Regions from separate parts of the Homo sapiens genome. Here all the other regions are linked to region 2. Evidence: promoter capture Hi-C in 16 types of primary human blood cells and fetal thymus (Javierre and others, 2016). All regions are on one chromosome and are shown on one strand. The core of a region is centred on a gene start or on the middle of the fragment in contact, and the rest is flanking DNA. Distances in the headings are between cores, read along the strand shown.

Region 1 (2,700 bases), core at 132-2,631, 100 kb after region 2:
TTTGGGGCCTAGATACTGATTGAACATGCTCATGTGTTTTTGGAAAATTTGTAACAATAAAATATTTTAACTCTCATAGTTATAATATGATTGATTTTTGTTTCACTCTCCAACTTCCTCCCCTCCATCATACTTGCTCTTCGGTTGAAAGCTGTACAGTGGCATAGGACATTTTTGAGATTTAATAAGGGGATAGTGAATGGGGAGATTTTTTTTTTGTGGATTTAATGGCATTTATTTACCTGGTTTGCACCTACCTCCATGTACAGCTAGCTGCCTTGGTATAGAAAAGGCTTCCAGAAATAGTCCTACCATCCACTGTGCTGTGCTGACCCATACATAGGATGTATGCAGCCATGAGCAGGTCCTGTGGCTGGTACTGGTAGTATGTGAGCATAGAGGAGATTCAAGATTTGAGAGGTATGAATCCAGAAGCTAAACTGTGGAAAATCTTATAGGAAAAGATCAAAAAACAACTTAATAGAGATTTACCAAAATTTGACAATATTCCTGAAAATTTGTATGACTTCACTCATAATAAATTGTGACACTAGAAGAAAGTTTTCAAAATTTCAGTAACAATTTCAATTATATATGTGAGAGGAAAGATTGAATTGTTATTTCTAATTTTTTCTTTATTAACTATTATAAAGTTGTCATAAGAAGAGGCAATCAAAGAGTATGTGGTTGACCGGGCGTGGTGGCTCACGCCTGTAATCCCAGCACTCTGGGAGGCCGAGGTGGGTGTATCACAAGGTCAAGAGTTCAAGACCAGCCTCACCAAGATGGTGAAACCCCGTCTCTACTAAAAATACAAAAATTAACCAGCCATGGTGGTGGATGCCTGTAATTCCAGCTACTCGGGAGGCTGAGGCAGAGAATTGCTTGAACCCGGGAGGCAAGGTTGCAGTGAGCCTGGGTGATAGAGCAAGACTCTGTCTCAAAAAAAAAAAAAAGTGTATGTGGCCATAAACATGCAGATAAAAGTGTTATGGGAGGCTGGACATGGTGGTTCATGCCTGTAATCACAGCACTTTGGGAGGCCAAGACAGGTGGGTCACTTGAGTCCAGTAGTTAAGACCAGCCTGGGCAACATGGTAAAACCCCATCCCTACAAAAAAGTATGAAATATTGATCAAGCATGGTGGCTCGTGCCTATAGTCCCAGCTACTCAGGAGGATGAGAGAGGAAGATTGCCTGAGTCCAGGAGGTTGAGGCTGCAGTGAGCTAAGATGGCAGGCACCACTGCATTTACAAAAAAAAAAAAAAAAAAAAGCATAATAGATATGGGTCAGGAACTTAATACAAATATTACATTATCTCTTCTGGATTTTGTGATGTCTATGTAGGCATTTTGCATTAAAAATTATAATTTGTTATGTTTTTTCTTTCCAAATAAATGTTCATTTTTGGAATAAATTTTTTATTGTTTTAGTTAAAGAGAACCCCCAGACTGAAAATGTTACAGGCCTCACAAATCGGTATTTGCCCTTCATTCCATCTATTCCCCACTAATTAAACCAAATCCTCTTCTTAGTCTGTGATTAGTTTAGAGGTGGACAGTCTCTGCCCATTGGCTGTGAACCAGGAAGCAGGTAGCCCTCATTGCTTGCAGTTATCTTGATGGACACCAACTCAAGAGGCAGGCAGAACTGAGAGGACTTTGGAGACTGAGGGAACTGTGCTTGAAACCTGATCTATCTTTGGACACACAATATAGAAGTTCTCTAGTATTTATAATATCAGAATTTTCACAAGCAAAGCTCATTCTTATATTTAGTTGAATAGTTGAAATTATAAAGCTAGGTTAAAATGCAAACAAATGTAGAAAAATAGTGCTCATTTTTCTAAAGGATTTTCCATTGGTATGGAAACCATTCTAATCATTACATCTCTGATAGTTTATAGCATTGAAGCTATAAGAAAGTATCAATTTGGATGTTTTAAGGTACTACTTTATTAAATGTTAATTTATTTTAAAACTGCTGATTTATTCAATGTTAAAATACAGAAGACTAGGAATAAGAAAAAATGAATTCAGGTATGCCTCTAGAAATTTCATTTTGATGTACTTCCTTCTGATCATTTTTCTATGTATATGTTTTATTTGAAAAAATCTTTATGATAGTTTAATACAATTTTATCTTCTCCTTTTTTTCTATTATTCCCTATGACCCTAGTGATTTAGCACAGAAGGGCCTCCATGTTCACAAATTCAGGGGGCTTTTTTCACATTGTAGCCTATGTGAACGGCGTCCACTGGAGTTGTGCAGTAAATAGCCTGTGTGACTGTATGAGGCAGCCATTTACATCTGGGCGTCTAAGCCTTCATGTTTACCTAGAGCATCTTATGGTACCATCCCAACTACAGATTTGGGAATAAAAGGCAGGGCAAACCACTCCTGGCTGCCTTCCAGTACCATCATATAAATTTAATATTCAGCCTTTGTGCTTTTTCTCAGGCTGGCTTTGTCTGTAGCTGTGTCTCACAGCTGTCCTCTTACAAGGTTACATCTATGCCTTTTCTTCACCTTGGAATAATCTGCTGACTCCAGTGTATGAAAAAAAAGTGTTAAGTAAATTAACTTCATGGCTGTTTTAATGATCACATTTCATTGTTATATCATTTTGGATGGTTCCAATTTGACTTCCTTCTGTCAGTTTCTTTGGATTGATTTTCTATCGGCTCATTTTCAGAAA
Region 2 (2,700 bases), core at 57-2,556:
TAGGACTAGAATATTAAAGCAGTGTTGCCACTTAACATTAATCCATGAACATATTCTACGCGTGACTACTGGAAAGCACTAATAACCACCCCAATCTAGTCTCTAGGAATTGGCATTTAAAAGCCCAAAGATGGAAAAAGGTCACCTAACCCGGCAACACATCCTGAGGGAAAGGAGGGACACAGGACTCCGTGCGCGATATCAACATTCTCTTCCTTTCTACTCTCCGCACCGCCCCCGCCCCCCGTGTCAGGTGATCAGTTATTTAGCACCATTAACACGTACGTATCGACAAGTGGTTCATTAAATTACATGTATTATCGGAAGGCAAGAGTCTAGGCTTCTCATTTCAAACTAAGCAAAAGGAGTCCACAGTTTGAGTCCCGGGCACAAAAGCGCGCGGTAACTGGAGGATAAATGGAAGAGCAACTCTCATCTCCAAAAAGCAGCAGCAGGGAGCAGCCTAGCAGCCAGGGCCAGTCCCAGTTTCCCGAAACCAAGGCCCAAAGCTCCATGCTGGGGCTCCCTGAGAAGGAAGAGGCCCCAACGGCCGGATCCGGGGGCCTGCGAGACGGGCCTTCCAGGCAGCGCCCGCCGTGCCTCGGGCCTGCGCGCCCGCGCCTCAGCGGCGGCGGGGCGCCCTCGCAGCAGACGGCTGGGTACCAGTGGTCGGGAGAGAGGCCGTGGTCCCGACCCTCCGCCTGGCGACCGCGTCGCTGCGACTCCCTCCCCAGCCCGCGGTCCAAATGGTCCACAGGCGCCAGCGGCGCGGCCCAGGTAGGCCGAGGACGTTGCGCAAGAGGCCCGAGAGGCGATCTCTCGGCTGCGCGGGAGAAAAGCGCGGAGAGTCCGCCGCGGGAGGGGCGGAGAGGCCCGCGGAGGCGCTGTGCGTGTGGAAGGGGATGGGGGAGGGGAGGATTGCCCGTCTCCCTGGCCGCGGCCACAGCCGCAACTCACCCAGCTCCGCCAGACGAGCGCTACCACTGGCAGCAAGAGGAAGATGGTGGACGCTGCCGCCGCCGAAGAGGAGGAGGAGGGGGCCCGGTGGGTGCCGCGGAGAGGGGGTACGCGCAGGACGTCGGCGTCGCTGCCACAGCCTCTTTTCCTCCTGGGACCAAATGGCTGCTGCTGACGACACTATTCTTGGCTTCCGCGCCGCCCTCCTAATCCTCGTTGCAGCCGCCGCCGCCCTGAGCCCGAAGGTCGCTTGCCGCGTGGGGACGGTGCGACGGCGCGAGACCCCGCAGCCATCGGCGTGCGGCGGCGGCGCGGGAGCTGGAGAGGGGCCGTGTCACGTGACCCCACTGTTTACCGTTCCGGGGGCCGCGGCCTGCGTCGCTGCCGCGCCTGCGCGCTTTAGGGCCTCGAGCGCCGCGCCTCCGTGGGGCCCCGGGCTGCAGCGCTTCCCGGCGTTGCCGCGCCCCTCCCTGTCTTCGGAGGACGCGGCACCGCCTGCGGGCTTCTAGCTCACACCTCCGCGCCGCCGGGAGGGGCGAATCAGAGGAGCGCTTTTTCTCGACCGTAGTAAGCACTAAGGCTTCACAGTTAATATAATATTGATGCGCAGCTCCCCAACCCCAGGTACTTTTTATTAATTGACTGTGAGTTCAAGAATGGTAGAATAGGATGGAGTAGATGAGCCCTCTGCCCAAATATCTGTGCTGGCTCGGCACAGCAGCCTTACCATTAACTACCTCCGTTACCCTCACCCTACATGGCTGATCTACCTCAGGACTCAAATTGCTACCTCCAAGAAACATTCTTGGTATCCAGTAAGCAGTCTTCAGAATGTGGTCCCAGGTTTCCCTGAGGGGTCGCCAAGACCTTTCAGTAGAGCCTCCATTCCTTTGCCAGGAGCATGTGTCTAAGGCCAAATTTTCTTCCCACCCTTCAACCAAAACAGCATATAGCAGCTGATTCAATGCAGAAACAGATAAGAGAATCCAGCCATCTTCTATTAAGCCAGACATTGAGGAAATCTGCAGAAATTTTAGATATCACCCTTTTATTAATTTGGAAAATATGCTTTTCATAAATACATTATTTGTGGTAACAAATATTGTGTAGAGGTCCAGAGACAAAAAAAGTTTGAGACCCACTGGTCTGCTTCCACAGACACTTGAGCTAACCCCTATCTCAGCCCTTAATAAGCGCTGTGAAGTAATTGTTGCTTGTCAGTCACTCCAACCAAAAGGAGCTACTTAGGGACAGGGTTTGTGGCTTTTATCTACAGGGACTATTACAGTATTCAGCCAGTACCTGCTGAGCACCTTACTGTGTGGTCTGCACTGTTCTAAAACCTTTACAGTACTTGTTGATTTAAGCTTTAGACCAACCGCAGCCCACATTGTAAGATTAGTGCAGGGTGGAAGAATAAGTCACAGGCATGTGGTGAAGATCTGTTCTTTCCTCTCTCTAGTCTTCTGATATTTTAAGCACTCTTAATAGCAAATGCTCTTCTACAAAGGAAGTTTGGGTTGTCCTGATTCCACTGGATTCTTAAGAGTTTCACCCCCTGTCTTGACTAATCAATCCCTCAAGACTTTGTTTTACAATCTTTTTGTAATGTGTTTTTGAGAAAGGAAAATAGAAATGAGTAATTTTTTTTTTTAATTCTCACTTGGGATGTCTGGGATGAATTATAAAAACAAGCCTAATGTTATTCTTACTCTTCTGGTGGATCTCAGTGTGACGTTTTAA
Region 3 (2,700 bases), core at 20-2,519, 110 kb before region 2:
GTGCTGAAATAATCAAAATTAGTGCATCCAAGGTAAGAGTGGTGAAATTCACAAAGCATATTGCAGAGCTTTAGATTTGGAGGAAAAAGTTACACTTTAAAAGTAGAAGTGCAGGTCAGCATAGATAGACTAGGAAGCTACAGGCTCTCCTTCCCCAACAAAGACACCAAATTAACAATAATATGTGGACCACAATTCCTCTGTGATAATGCTGGAGACCAATTGAGAATCTATAGCACTAAGGCTATTGTAAGACAAAGACGGAATTCCAGTGAAAGGTGTAGGAAAATCTGCGGCATTTGTCACACACATTTGTTCCCCTTCCTCTATGCAGCATCACACAGAGCAACTGGAAGGAATCCTCTATATGAGTTCTCCTCCCTTGGGACAGAAATAAACAGTAGAACATGAGTCCAATGTTCTGGCTTGTCTGAGGGCTGCCCAAAGGACTCATTTCTGTACCACCTGACTCAGAGTGCTGACAGTATTGACACCAGAATTCAGAAGCCACTGGAAACAAAGGTGGAGTGGAATATTAGAAATGCAGTTCAGCAGGCAGATTCCAAGGAGAGTAAGAGATTAGAAGGGTTTGAGAGGTCTTCCAGCTGGGCTGATTAAAGAAGGTCTTCTCCTGTACAAAGTCAGAATATAAAAACTGGGATAGAGGGTATTTTTCAAATGCTCAAACCCAAGCAAAAAATTACAAGGCATACAAAGAAACAGCAGAACATGACTAAATCAAAGGGACAAAATAAAACTCCAGAAATCAACCCTAACGAATGCAGATATATGAGCTGCTTAACAAGGATTTTAAATAACTGTCACAAGGATCTCAATATGTTAAAAAGATAACATAGGCAACTAAAGAAATCAGGAAAATTATGCATGAACAAAATAAGACTGTCAACAAAGATAAATAAACTATATTAAAAAACAGAAACCTATAGCAGAAAAATACAAAAACTGAACTGAACAATTCATTATAGGGGTTTAACAGCAGACTTGATCTGACAGGAGAAGGAATTGGCAAACTTGAAATCAGGTCATTTAAAATTATTGAGAGATTTGGGCAAGATGGCCAACCAGACACAGCCAGGTGGAACAGCTGTCACCAAGGGACTAGGACAAGTGGCACACAGTCCTAGCAGATCTTCAGAGGGAAGGCACTGAGAGCAGACTGAGGGAAGACACAGAAGCCAGGCTGAAGAGGGAGGAAGTTGGGACCCCTGGAGGGGGCTACTATGCACCAGTACTTGTTCCTGACCCCCAGTGACTCTGGGGGAATGGGTGAGTTGAACTGGCAAGGAACAACCCACTCTCACCACAGGCCTCTGGAATCCTGGCAGCAGGAGACCCCTTGACCACCACAGACACTTGAGTTGGCAGGAAAACCTGCTTGGAGAAGTGATGGGGAAGGATATCAGCCGATACAGAGCCCAGAGGGTTTGGAATGGGAGCATCTGTAGACAGATCATCAAGGCAGAAAATTAACAAAGATATTCAGGACCTAAACTCAGTACTGGATCAAACATACGTGACAGACATCTACAGAACTCTCCACCCAAAAACAACAAAATATACATTCTTCTCATTGTCACATGGCACACACTCTAAAATTGACCACATAATCAGACATAAGATACTCCTCAGCAAATGCAAAAGAACTGAAATCATAACAACCACTCTGTCAGATCACAGTGCAATGAAGTAAGAAATCAAGACTAAGGAAATAGCTCAAAATCATACAATTACATGGAAATTGAATATCCTGTTCCTGAATGACTCTGGGGTAAACAATGAAATTAACATAGAAATCAAGAAGTTCTTTGAAACTAATGAGAACAAAGATACAACACACCAGGATCTCTGGGACACAGCTAAGACAGTGTCAAGAGGATAATTTACAGCACTGAACACCCATATCAAAAAGTTAGAAAGATAGCAATTTAACAACCTAACATCACAACTAAAAGAACTAGAGAACCAAGAGCAAATCAAGCCCAAAGCTAGCAGAAGAAAGAAATAACCAAAATCAGAGCTGAACTGAAGGAGATTGAGACACAAAAAATCATTCAAAAGATCAACAAATCCAGGAGTTGTGTTTTTGAAAAAATAAAATAAAATAGACCACTAGCTAGACCAATAAAGAAGAAAAGAGAGAAGATCCAAATAAACACAATTAGAAATAACAAGGGGGATATTACCACTAACTCCACAGAAATACAAATAATCATCAGAGAATATTGTAAACACTTCTATGCACACAAATTTGAAAATCTAGGAAAAATAGATAAATTCCTGGATACATACACCCACCCAAGACTGAACCAGAAAGAACCTGAATCCCTGAAAAGACCAATAATGAGCTCCAAAATTAAATCAATAATAACTAGCCTACCAACCAAAAAAAGCCCAGGACCAGACAGATTCACAGCTGAATTCTACCAGATGTACAAAGAAGAGCTGATACCGTTCCTACTAAAACTATTCCAAAAAATTGATGAGGAGGGACTCCTCCTTAACTCATTCTATGAGACCAGCATTATCCTGGTACCAAAATCTGGCAGAGATACAACAAAAAAGAAAACTTTAAGCCAATATCCTTGATAAACATTGATGCAAAAATCCTCAAAAAAGCACTGGCAAACCAAGTCCAGCAGCACATCAAAAAGCTTGTCCACCAAAATCAAGTAGGCTTTA
Region 4 (2,700 bases), core at 150-2,649, 92 kb before region 2:
AGGATATGGAACAATAGGAACTCTCATTCATTACTGGTAATGCAAAATTGTACAACAATTTTGGAAGACAATTGGGCAGTTTCTTACAAAACTAAAAATGCTCTTACCATATGATCAAGCAATTGTGTTCCTTGGTATTTGTCCAAAGGAGCTGAAAACTTGTGTTCAAACTGTATGATTCCAACTATATGATATACTGGAAAAGGCAAAACCATGAAGTCAGTAAAAAAAGATCAGTGGTTGCCAGGGTGGAGGGAGAGTCAAATAGGCAAGCAAAGAGGATATGATGTATGATTTTATGTATGATACTGTAATGGTAAATAAATTTCACAACGCATTTGTCAAAATCCATAGAATGTACGTGAAGAGTGAATCCTATGTAAATGATGAACTTATGTGATAATGATGTGTCAATATAGAGTCATCCATTTAACAAATGTACTCTAGTGGGCAATACTGACAGTGGAGAAGGCTGCGCATGTGTTGAGACAAGGGGTATATGGAAACCCTAATACTTTCCACTCAGTTTTGCAGTGAACCTAAAATGGCTCTGAAAAAATAAAGTGTACTTTTAAAAATACCTTCCATGTATTTAAAAGAAGTGATAGGCAAAATATGCTAATATCAGTTTCACAAAGATAGATGGAAAAAAGCAATTACTTATGCATAGTTTATATAAAATGTGGTTTTATTTAAAATAAATCAAGTATTAGATATATGCATATGTTAATTGTATGTGTATTTTTTTAAAGTCTGGCTACATGTACAATAAACTTAACAGTAATTCTTGGGATTAAGAGAGGAGAAACAATGAAATTTCACTTAAAAAATGTTATACACTTTTATATTGTTTGTCTTATAATAAACATGTATTAATTTAGCAATATTTTAAAAAGTTTCAAAAGGACACTCACATTTTAAATCACCCTTGTGTTCTTAAAATTTTAACCAGATTTTATGAAAATGTGGTCCAAGGAACCCCTATGTCAGAAACACCAGGAGGGTTTATTAAAAATGGGGATGCTTTCTGAATCCCATCCCAGCATTTTTTTTTTTTACGACAGGGTCCCACTCCGTCGCCCAAGCTGGAGTGCAGTGGTGCCATCTCAGCTTACTGCAACCTCCACCCCCACCTCCACCCCCACCTCCACCTCCCAAGCTCAACTGATCCTTCCACTTCAGCCTCCCCAGTAGCTGGGACCACAGGCATTCGCCACCATGCCCAGCTAACATATATATATATATTTTTTTTTTTTTTTTTTTTTTTTTTTTTTTTGAGAGATGGTGTTTCGCCATGTTGCTCAGGCTGGTCTCAAACTCCTGAGCTCAAGCAATCCTCCAGCCTCAGCCTCCCAAAGTGCTGGGATTACAGGAGTGAGCCACCGTGCCCAGCCTCCATCCTGGCTTTAATAAATCAGGCCCTCTAGGAATGAGGTATAGCGCTTTGCATTCTTGGCAACACGATCAGGTGATTCTAACCTCTACCCTTCTGAATAGCAATAAGTCGAAATGAATGAGTACAGTTTTTTAAAAAAAATCAGCAAATGCCAACACCTCTTGGATAAACACCTACCAATTATTCAATCTAAAGTAAAAGGAGCCGTTAGCATACGCCTGGTCCACAGAGCAGGGAGAAAACTAAATAACTAGATTAATGGCTAAGCTATGTCCTGAACCAGGGCGCACTCTAAGAAGCACTGTAACATTATAAGAAAAGAAGAAGGAATATAGATTTCATAGGGATAAAAACTGGCCAAATGTGCAGAACTTTCCATCTCCCTCTCATAATTCCCATTGGGTCAGTTATACACAGAAGCAAAAAAAAAAATCAATATATTATGCCTTATAATATATCCTGACTCAATTATACTCTGTATTTGAATCAGAAATATAGAGGCTGAAGAATAACTTATAAAGTGTTGTCCTCTATCTTCCAACATTTGAACTTTCTGAAAGCATTATAAATGTAAGACATTTCCAAGAATTTCAGCTATGCATCTGATCCCTCTATATAATGCAATCTAGAGCAGAAGATTTGTGTCAGATAGTATCGGCCAAAAAGGCATAGTTACCAGAAGCAAGAGAAGGCTTTTCAGTAAGTGACTTCGTTACAAAACCCTAAAGTTAGTGGAATTAAAACAGACTCACAAAGTTACCAAGGTTTGATGTACTCACCTACAAGCAACTCTTGGGCGATAAATCCTGAAATTACAAAATTACATAAGCAGTTTATTGTATTTATGAGCAATGTTTTTTAATCCAGCAGATAACTCCCAGAGTTCTCTTTCTCTCCTTCCCTCAGCTTTATCCATAAGTGATCCATCTTTCAGAAGCAATGAGTTATCCTGGATGTCTTTTGCTTCCTTTCATGTTCGAAAAAAGACACATATTCAATTGCAGTTTCAGCCTCTCGCTGCAGATGGTATCCTATTTTATGCTGCACAACACTTAAAAGCCCAATCAGGTAAGATTGGCAGGCTGTTTGTTTGCAGAATGAATTCCTAATAGTCTATTAAGTAATGTATGATAGTGTTTGTGTCACCTAGTATTTAAATATGTAAACATTTGATGCTTTTATGTTCTATTGTCACTGCAAGTGTATGCGTATGAATTTAGAAGCCCTAGATATTCTAATAAAATAGCAACAGATTTGTTGGAATTAAAGTTTGCAAAATCTAAATATAGTATATGCTCAACTTA
Region 5 (2,700 bases), core at 155-2,654, 71 kb before region 2:
TGGTTGAACCCGGGAGGCAGACATTGCAGCAAGCCAAGATCACGCCACTGCACTCCAGCCAGGGCGACAGGGCAGACTCTGTCTCAAAACAAAAACAAAAACAAAAACAAAAACAAAAACAAACCCACAACTGCTAACCAAATAAACTGATCAATATTACATAAACAGTATTACATTGAATTAAACTAATTGCAGCCTAATCCAAAGAAAAGTGAAGTTTATGTTAGCCTTAAAAAAAAAAAAAAGACAGGCAAATGATTTAGGCTTTTTCAAATAATAAAAGGAATTTTTTTACAATCTTTTAATTCTTTAAAATCAGCAGATAGAGAATAAATGAAAAAGGTCAGATACGAACAAGATAGCAAAATATGATCTCAACATAAATACAGTATATATGTACTGATTTATTTTCCTTCTATACACATATAAAAATACATTTCCTTCAAAATAATTCAAAAATGTCACTGTCTCATTTATCACAATATTATAATGTTACTGCTGCTTATTTTCCATAAATACCACATAATAGTTTCTTTCTATTTCCCTCAGGTGTAGAACCAACCAAGGGTATCACTTGCAGCAACTACAGTCACTAGTCTCACTGGTTTTCAACTAGCTGTAAAGCTTCAACTCCCAGTCTACATAAACCACATTCACAGAAATAGGCAGGTAAGAACAGTAGTCATGAAGATGGGGAAACATAAGCAGTGGGGAAATCAGAAGATCTGTTTAACAAAAAATTCTTAATGTGTTAACATTAAAGACCAAAAGTATGTAAATCTTTTATTTAAGTGTGTATTCAAAGAAAAACTTGGATATCCATGTAGACTCTCATTGATTTTGAATTATCTGACACAGTGAGGCAGTACATCTTGGGAAAAGTGCAGGACATAGGAGTTTAAAACTTTCAGAGAATAGTTTATTTTACAATTCTAAAGATCCATTTGTTAATTCATAATTATATTACTTGGACTGTTTAAAAATCATTGTTAATAAATATTTCTATTACTAACTCTGTCTTATTTCCCTGTCAATTACTTTCAGAAACACACATTATCAATTCATGCACAGAAAAGCAGAAAAGTTCACAGTACCTCTGTCAGGTATTCTGGGGAGCCAGATACTGGATAGGCTTTGGTAACAAATTTTGCCACAGAAGGCATGTTGATAAAACCTTTCCAGATGAAGTTCAATCGAGCCAGAAAGGTAGACTCAACTTCAACAGTTCCAGGCATCTCTGGACTAGAAAATGACATTAAAAAGCCTAAAGACAAGCTGATGAATAAATCAATGTCCTACCTAGTCATCAGTTACTCGTATTTTAGCATGTGAAGAAGGCCAAAATATGAGGCTATTGACAAAGAGTTCACACTTTCATTTTATAAAATTACATTCATATTTACATAGTAATGTTTTACAAAATCTTCCCTCTTGGCTGGCTTAGGAGAACTAAGATTGAGAAAAGTGCAAACATTTCGTCTTTAATAATCTATCCCTGACTTTTGGGACCAGCATAATTAAAGAGAATTTTAAAGCTGTTTCCCCACACGCTCCAATCTCTCACTGAAAACACTCCAAATATATTTATTTTCGAAGTCTTGTTTTATCTCAAAGTACAGGAAAGTACAGTTATTTTCTCAAATGAGAGGTTCCCAAAATGTCACTTTTCTGTTTTTGAAGACTTGCAAGTATAATCTGGCAAAGATCTATAATGAGTATTACAGAATTTACAACAGAGAAAATTACCGTGGAGCAGGAGAGAACGTTGACTTTGGAGACTCCTGTTTCTCCTCCTCAAAGAATTCAGAAGCCAAAATATTTGAGGTTGAAGATAATGCATCTGCTATACTTTCTGCTTCATTGTCTGAATGTTTGCGAGCTACTCCTACAACAACTTTTACTTTTTTTGGAGAAAGATCATCTACAGGTGGTGCCATTCGACCTAAGCCCAGAATACATCAAAAGAAACCAACTGTTAACTACAACTTTTATAACTTAACCCATTTTCACTTTCTAAAGTTATTCAGGTTCTATGATTCAATTGCTGAGTAACCATACATTTCCTGGGGTTATATCTAACTGTCATCATTTAGTTGTATCACAACCACATTTAAGAATCAGCAGAAAATTCACTAGTGTTCTCCCCACTGCCAGCCCTCTTCTATATACAGGGACCTAAGCTTATCTGAAATGCAATTCAAAGCAAATCATGCATGGTTCTACCTGTAATAAAGTTAATTTCCCCTTAAAATCTCTTTATAATTATTTCCTACATGTAAAACATATCATGAGTAAATATGGACAAGATTAGCAGTCCCCAACCTTTTTATCACCAGCAACCAATTTCATGGAAGACAATTTTCCCATGGACGGTGGGATGAGGGGAGAGATGGTTTCAGGATGAAACCATTACACCTCAGATCATCAAGCATTAATAGTTAGATTCTCATAAGGAGCACGCAACCTAGATCCTTCACATGTGCAGTTCACAATAGGGTTTGCACCCCTATGAGAACCTAACGCCACTGCATCTGACAGGAGGCGGAGCTCAGGCAGTATCGTCCACCGCTCACCTCCTGCTGTGAGGCCCAGTTCCTAATAGGCCATGGACCGTACAGGTTTGTGGCCCGGGGGTTGAGGACCCCTAAGGTAGTAATTCCTCTCTTAGTGAAGTGAAAAATTAGAAGAAGAGAATGTTAA

The links. The method cuts DNA at HindIII sites, captures the fragments that hold promoters and counts their contacts. A CHiCAGO score of 5 or more calls a contact.
Region 1: a contact is called between a fragment that was not itself captured here and the fragment with the promoter of PHF3 in region 2, in 3 of 17 cell types (total CD4 T cells, naive CD8 T cells and activated CD4 T cells). The highest score is 6.8, in total CD4 T cells.
Region 3: a fragment that was not itself captured here is called in contact with the fragment with the promoter of PHF3 in region 2 in 7 of 17 cell types (naive CD8 T cells, non-activated CD4 T cells, naive CD4 T cells and 4 more); the score reaches 11.7 in naive CD8 T cells.
Region 4: a contact is called between a fragment that was not itself captured here and the fragment with the promoter of PHF3 in region 2, in 10 of 17 cell types (non-activated CD4 T cells, total CD4 T cells, naive CD8 T cells and 7 more). The highest score is 28.9, in non-activated CD4 T cells.
Region 5: a fragment that was not itself captured here is called in contact with the fragment with the promoter of PHF3 in region 2 in 16 of 17 cell types (non-activated CD4 T cells, naive CD8 T cells, total CD8 T cells and 13 more); the score reaches 39.5 in non-activated CD4 T cells.

What each region holds. Positions count from the first base shown.
Region 1 is chr6:63,530,088-63,532,787 of GRCh38, reverse strand. It overlaps a transcript of LGSN not described here and a transcript of PTP4A1 not described here. Among named protein-coding and RNA genes, the nearest start is that of PTP4A1, 41 kb to the left of the region's middle. The HindIII fragment of the contact is 3,557 bases long and covers 1-2,700 here.
Region 2 is chr6:63,634,408-63,637,107 of GRCh38, reverse strand. It overlaps PHF3 (PHD finger protein 3), which reads right to left and starts at 1,306. Exons shown (of 16, transcript NM_001370348.2): 1 at 958-1,306. RefSeq lists silencers at 532-711, 1,152-1,511 and enhancers at 729-1,549, 2,081-2,618. The HindIII fragment of the contact is 3,030 bases long and covers 1-2,326 here.
Region 3 is chr6:63,748,331-63,751,030 of GRCh38, reverse strand. The region is part of intron 41 of EYS (eyes shut homolog); the gene reads left to right. Among named protein-coding and RNA genes, the nearest start is that of SCAT8, 57 kb to the left of the region's middle. The HindIII fragment of the contact is 2,810 bases long and covers 1-2,674 here.
Region 4 is chr6:63,726,283-63,728,982 of GRCh38, reverse strand. It overlaps EYS (eyes shut homolog), which reads left to right. Exons shown (of 43, transcript NM_001142800.2): 42 at 2,303-2,464. Among named protein-coding and RNA genes, the nearest start is that of SCAT8, 79 kb to the left of the region's middle. The HindIII fragment of the contact is 8,279 bases long and covers 1-2,700 here.
Region 5 is chr6:63,705,271-63,707,970 of GRCh38, reverse strand. It overlaps PHF3 (PHD finger protein 3), which reads right to left. Exons shown (of 16, transcript NM_001370348.2): 12 at 1,747-1,942; 13 at 1,095-1,242. Among named protein-coding and RNA genes, the nearest start is that of PHF3, 71 kb to the right of the region's middle. The HindIII fragment of the contact is 1,556 bases long and covers 627-2,182 here.